Regions from separate parts of the Homo sapiens genome. Here region 2 is linked to region 1. Evidence: promoter capture Hi-C in human tissues and cell types (Jung and others, 2019). All regions are on one chromosome and are shown on one strand. The core of a region is centred on a gene start or on the middle of the fragment in contact, and the rest is flanking DNA. Distances in the headings are between cores, read along the strand shown.

Region 1 (3,232 bases), core at 397-2,896:
CCTGGTTTTGGGCCTGGCGCGGTGGCTCACGCCTGTAATCCCAGTACTATGGGAGGCTGAGGCGGGCAGATCACCTGAGGTTGGGAGTTCGAGACCAGCCTGACCAACATGGAGAAACCCCGTCTCTACTAAAAATACAAAAAATTAGCCCTGCGTGGTGGTGGCGCATGCCTGTAATCCCAGCTATTCGGTAGGCTGAAGTAGGAGAATCGCTTGAACCCAGGAGGTGGAGGTTGCGGTGAGCCGAGATCGTGCCATTGATCTCCAGCCTGGGCAACAAGAGCAAAACTCTGTCTAAAAAAAATAAATAAATAATAAAAATAAAAACAGTATGCCTGGTTTTAAAGCTTCAAAGAATTTACTCATTCTCCTGTATGTAACATTCTAGAAATGCATCTGGAGTTAAAGCCTTCTTGGAGACTTAAGAACAAATGCACTTATGCATGGCCTTTTGAAACCTAATGTTTCTACAAGGAGGCACGTCCATACTTGCAACTCCTTCTAGAAGCTTCCCCAAATCTCCTGCCTCCCCACGCTGAGTTATCCGATGTCTGAAATGTCACAGCACTTAGTCTTACTCTTCTATGGCCTACTTTCTACTGCTATTTGTGTTACTCATGCTACCCATCTTATCTCCCTCAGTGTGTGAGACGCTGGCATCAGATTTGGCATCTCCCACACACTCAACATTATGTGTTGCACACAGTAGGTACTCAATACATGCAAGTTTTCTGAATAGATATTTTCCTAGTCATCTGTGGCACCTGCTATATCCTACTGAAAATTACCAAAATGCAATTAACTTCAATTTTACATTTGGGATTTACAGAAAATAACTCTCTCTCCAAGAAATGCATAACAATTTAGCTAGGGCAAATGCCAGGTCCGAGTTAAGACATTAATGCGCTTCGATCGCGATAAGGATTTATCCTTATCCCCATCCTCATCTTTCTGCGTCGTCTAATTCAAGATAGGTCAGTAAAGGAAACCTTTTCGTTTTAGCAACCCAATCTGCTCCCCTTCTCTGGCCTCTTTCTCTCCTTTTGTTGGTAGACGACTTCAGCCTCTGTCCTTTAATTTTAAAGTTTATGCCCCACTTGTACCCCTCGTCTTTTGGTGATTTAGAGATTTTCAAAGCCTGCTCTGACACAGACTCTTCCTTGGATTGCAACTTCTCTACTTTGGGGTGGAAACGGCTTCTCCGTTTTGAAACGCTAGCGGGGAAAAAATGGGGGAGAAAGTTGAGTTTAAACTTTTAAAAGTTGAGTCACGGCTGGTTGCGCAGCAAAAGCCCCGCAGTGTGGAGAAAGCCTAAACGTGGTTTGGGTGGTGCGGGGGTTGGGCGGGGGTGACTTTTGGGGGATAAGGGGCGGTGGAGCCCAGGGAATGCCAAAGCCCTGCCGCGGCCTCCGACGCGCGCCCCCCGCCCCTCGCCTCTCCCCCGCCCCCGACTGAGGCCGGGCTCCCCGCCGGACTGATGTCGCGCGCTTGCGTGTTGTGGCCGAACCGCCGAACTCAGAGGCCGGCCCCAGAAAACCCGAGCGAGTAGGGGGCGGCGCGCAGGAGGGAGGAGAACTGGGGGCGCGGGAGGCTGGTGGGTGTGGGGGGTGGAGATGTAGAAGATGTGACGCCGCGGCCCGGCGGGTGCCAGATTAGCGGACGCGGTGCCCGCGGTTGCAACGGGATCCCGGGCGCTGCAGCTTGGGAGGCGGCTCTCCCCAGGCGGCGTCCGCGGAGACACCCATCCGTGAACCCCAGGTCCCGGGCCGCCGGCTCGCCGCGCACCAGGGGCCGGCGGACAGAAGAGCGGCCGAGCGGCTCGAGGCTGGGGGACCGCGGGCGCGGCCGCGCGCTGCCGGGCGGGAGGCTGGGGGGCCGGGGCCGGGGCCGTGCCCCGGAGCGGGTCGGAGGCCGGGGCCGGGGCCGGGGGACGGCGGCTCCCCGCGCGGCTCCAGCGGCTCGGGGATCCCGGCCGGGCCCCGCAGGGACCATGGCAGCCGGGAGCATCACCACGCTGCCCGCCTTGCCCGAGGATGGCGGCAGCGGCGCCTTCCCGCCCGGCCACTTCAAGGACCCCAAGCGGCTGTACTGCAAAAACGGGGGCTTCTTCCTGCGCATCCACCCCGACGGCCGAGTTGACGGGGTCCGGGAGAAGAGCGACCCTCACAGTGAGTGCCGACCCGCTCTCTCCGCCTCATTTCCATTTCGTGGGTTCTCGCCCGCTCTCTCCCCTCCAGCCTGCACCCTCCTCCCGGATCTTCACTGCGACCCTAGCGCTCCGTGTGGTTTCTGGCCGCGCGGCCCTCGGCGGTTTCGGGTTCACCACTCACCCCCTCCTTTCCGGGCTGCGGCGTAGGCCCGGGTGTCCCCTGGGCTTTGGGGTGTGCCAATTTGCCCTGTAAACCAGTACCCCCGGCCCGGAGCCGCGGCGCGCCGGGGCCTCGCGGACTGGCTGTCTTCCCGCGGACAACCTGTCGCGTCGGGGATGCCCGCGGCCCCGCCATGCAGCTCTGGCCGCTTCTATCTGCTGCGTGCTGTCCCGGGGACAAAGACAGGAAGGACCGCAGCAGAACGAAACGGTCTTTACTGGAAAAACACCTTTCTAGAGTCCTGCCCTTAAATTCCGACTCGGGACGACCCGAGGCATATGGCACACTACTCTCACCCACTCTGTTTTATATTTTTCCGAATTGACGAAAGCTGAAAGAGCAAAAACAAAAACCAACCAGCCAACCAGCAAAAAATCCAGATGTTGTTAATAAAGTGCCATAGCTTTGTTTCAGTAGTGAAAAGAAGTGCAAACACTTTAATCTTCCACCTGCAGTGACTAGCTTTGAGACCTTGAGCCGACGCTTAACCCCAGAGCCGGTTTCCTCATCGCTCACGTGGGGCTAATATATTACTACCTTGCAGCAGGCTTGAGGATGAAATGAGAATTGCAGTTTTGCTTTCTGTAAGAAACAATGTTTGTGGTTCTAGAAAGAACACTGGCCTAAATAAGGAGTGCTTGGACTTTAGGGGATTCCCTAAGTCTGGAGTGGGGGCTGAAGATTTGCATTTCTAACATGTTCCCCGGGGATGCTGATCACATCACACTTTGAGAGCCACTGGTCTAGAGGAAAGAGAAAGAAAGGGGCATAAGATGAGCCGATTTACAACACTGATGGAATTTGAAGTGAGAGAAAGAGGACTAGAATATATTGTAACCTGTCCTCCTGTAAGTGTATGTAAA
Region 2 (3,232 bases), core at 377-2,876, 92 kb after region 1:
CTGGTGGGACAGAGCAGGATGGTGAGAGATTTCATCACATTACTCAGAACAGCATGCAATTTAAAACTTAAGAGTTTTTTTCTGGAATTTTCCATTTAGGTCATAATGCCTGTCATTCACCTCACTTCACCTCATCGTGCAGGTGAATACAAAAGGGTGAATACAAAACAATATTTTGAGAGAGACCACATTCACATAACTTTTATTACACTATACTTTTATAACTGTTCTAATTTATTGTTAGTTACTGTTAATCTCTTACTGTGCCTAACTTATAAGTTAAACTTTATCATAAATATGTGTGATAGGAAAAAACATGGTATATATACATAGGGTTTGGTACTATCTGCGGTTACAGGTGCCCACTGGGGGTCTTGGAACACATCCTGTGCAGATAGGGTGGAACCACCGTAATCATTTAATCAAATAACTCATTCCACATGAATAAACTATTTGCTTAGCTGTAACAAGCAAGAAATTGGGTGAACGTCTAAAAAGTTAATTCTGCTCATCATGAGTTTGAAACTGACCTGCAACTCCTACTTGATGTGAAGCATATCCTGGTAATCTGCTGGGCCCTTCTCTCAGCCACAGAGTCAACGTTGATGAATCCGATTCTGCGTGGTGAAAGCAGAAGCCCAGGGAAGCAGCAGGGGCAATAAATCGGCTTTGGAGGATGGGAATGTGCAGCCATACAGCTGTTCTACCTTCTGATCGCCATTGCTGTACTGCAGCTAAATGCAGAAGAAAAAAGTCTAAATAATTTCCAAAGAGACGAGTGGAATAAATTAAAACTCACCTCAGGGTTTCGCCTCCTCCAGGAAACCATCTTTAAGCAAAAGAGGTCCCCAAATGTCTTGTTCACATCGCTGGCACTGGAAGTACCATGTTTTATAGTAACCACCTTGTTTATATGATTTTTCCATCAGACTGAATTCCTTCAGAATAAAGTCATTACACTGCTGACCTTTATATCCATACCACCAAAGACAATGCTTGGCACGTAACAGATGTTCTGTAGTTTTAGAGTGGACAAATAAAAGGATTTAAACCGAATCAAATACCATTTGAATGCTGTTCCTTTTAACATCCTTAGGTTTAATCTTAAAGACAATTATGGACTTCTATTTTTTTCTTCCTTTAGGAGTTCTGTTATAATGTTTTTAATGTATAAATTTCAAGGTAGTTAAACTTTGTTTTTAAATAATGTATGCTGGTTGTAGAAATTTTGAAAATAAAAAATATGAAGAAATCAAACTTCACATTTTACTAGCATATAGGAATAAAATTCTAATTTTTCCTTATTATAGATAATATCATGGTGAACATAATTATAGGTTTTCTATCTTTGCCTTCTTTAAATTCTCTTTACTACTTAAGATTGAGCCAGGGGAAAAAGATGCTAATATCTATTTGAAACTTACTAAGTTCCAAGCACTTTATATATATTATCTCATTAAGTGCACAACCATGAAAGGTATTACTACCTTAAGTTTATGGGTGAAGAAATAAATACTTCAGATTTAGAGTTTTTAGAAAAGCTTTTCAGATCACTTTCTTCATCCATCATCTCACTTAATCTTTATAATAACGCTATAAAGCGTGTGTGTGTGTCTGTCTTTGGGGGTTGATTATATATCAAATAGTTAATTAACTTTCCCTTCTCTTTTCCCTAGCTCTGCAGGAAGCTCCTCTCTTTAAGGACAATGTTCTCTACCTCTTTGAAAGTTGCTGTGCCTAGCACAGTGACAGGCACATGGGGCCTTTAATAAAGACTTCCTGATTTGAGTTAGCATGCAGTGGAATTATGGGATCAGGTCCTTCTCACCTTGCTCTCTTTGTCTGATGACATCTTTTAAAAATTGAGGTAAAGTACATAAAGTGAAATGTACAAATCTTAAGTGTACATTTCATGCGATTTGACATATGCATATGCCCGTAACACACTTTAACATTATAGAACATTTCTATCACTCCATACATTTCACATGTGCTCCTTCCCAGGCAATCCTTCCAATCAAATTAAAAGGCTACTTTCTAAAAGCAATGCTATTTGCTTGCTGTTTTATATCTACACTCTGTGTCTTGGAGAATCCACTCTCACTGCTTCAGCTGATACATACATGAGGATGGCTGCCCAGCCCTGACCTCACTGAACACTAAACTTTCTGTTCTCCAGTTGCTCCCAGACATTTCCTGTCCTGAAGGTTACCACTTCAGACTTCACAAAGTGTGTTCAAAACTGAATCTTTTGTTGTTGTTGTTGAGACGGAGTCTTGCTCTGTCACCAGGATGGAGTGCAATGGTGCAATCTCGGCTCACTGCAACCTCTGCTTCCTAGGTTCAAGCGATTCTCCTGTCTCAGCCTCCCAAGTAGCTGGAATTACAGGTGCGTGCCACCATGCCCAGCTAAGTTTTGTATTTTTAGTAAAGACGGGGTTTCATCATATTGGCCAGGATGGTCTTGATCTCTTGACCTCGTGATCTGCCCGCCTCGGCCTCCCAAAGTGCTGGGATTATAGGCGTGACCCACCGCGCCTGGCCAAAACTGAATCTTACACCCCAAACTAGCTTCATTTATAAGCTTATTTATTTCTGGCACCAATGCTTGAAACCTTAGAATCATTTTTAAATTGCTTTCTTCTTTTCCCTAATAAGCTTTATTGCTTTTTCTTCCCTCACCTCCCATTCCCATTGCTAATATCTATCCTTTAAAGTCCAGCTCATATTCCACATCTTTGACCAGTCTTTCCTAACCACTGCTCATGAGCTCACCATTATGAATTTAAAGACTACTATGTCTGTACAATTTATTAGAACTTATTACATATGACCTAATGATATCTCTTCCATTAGCTATTTTTTCCAATTCTATTTAATATTCCATGCATTTGCAATCCTCCAGGGTAACCCTACATTATGCACTGGGGCTCAATTTGTACTAATGAAATGACTGGCTTGCCTAAAGTCACATAGCTGGTGAGTGGCATAGCAGGGACCAGAACCAGTGCTATTTCATTACTGATGCAGATATGTTATGTGTGAAGCTAACAACATATTGCCTGTTTATCCCTCTAACTTCAGTTGTTGGTAACAAAACATCAATAGTTCATGTTCTAAAAGAATATGAATAGTTGACTTCTTATTCCACCAAGAATATGGACTTCTTAGTCCATAAAGACTAAGAATAGCGGACTTCATGTGTAAATAGTCTCTCTTTATAGGCACTACC

What was found. Contacts are between HindIII fragments. The study calls those that stand out against the background at their distance.
Region 2: a contact is called between a fragment that was not itself captured here and the fragment with the promoter of FGF2 in region 1, in 7 of the 25 tissues and cell types used here (adrenal gland, aorta, dorsolateral prefrontal cortex and 4 more).

What each region holds. Positions count from the first base shown.
Region 1 is chr4:122,825,185-122,828,416 of GRCh38, forward strand. It overlaps FGF2 (fibroblast growth factor 2), which reads left to right and starts at 1,647. Exons shown (of 3, transcript NM_001361665.2): 1 at 1,647-2,168. The coding sequence starts at 1,991. RefSeq lists promoters at 506-1,688, 857-1,824, cis regulatory regions at 881-951, 952-990, silencers at 1,490-1,969, 2,310-2,604 and enhancers at 2,190-2,269, 2,552-3,077, 2,950-3,089, 3,078-3,232, 3,130-3,179. The HindIII fragment of the contact is 11,104 bases long and covers 1-3,232 here.
Region 2 is chr4:122,916,971-122,920,202 of GRCh38, forward strand. It overlaps NUDT6 (nudix hydrolase 6), which reads right to left. Exons shown (of 5, transcript NM_007083.5): 2 at 531-734. Among named protein-coding and RNA genes, the nearest start is that of NUDT6, 4.0 kb to the right of the region's middle. The HindIII fragment of the contact is 3,529 bases long and covers 1-3,232 here.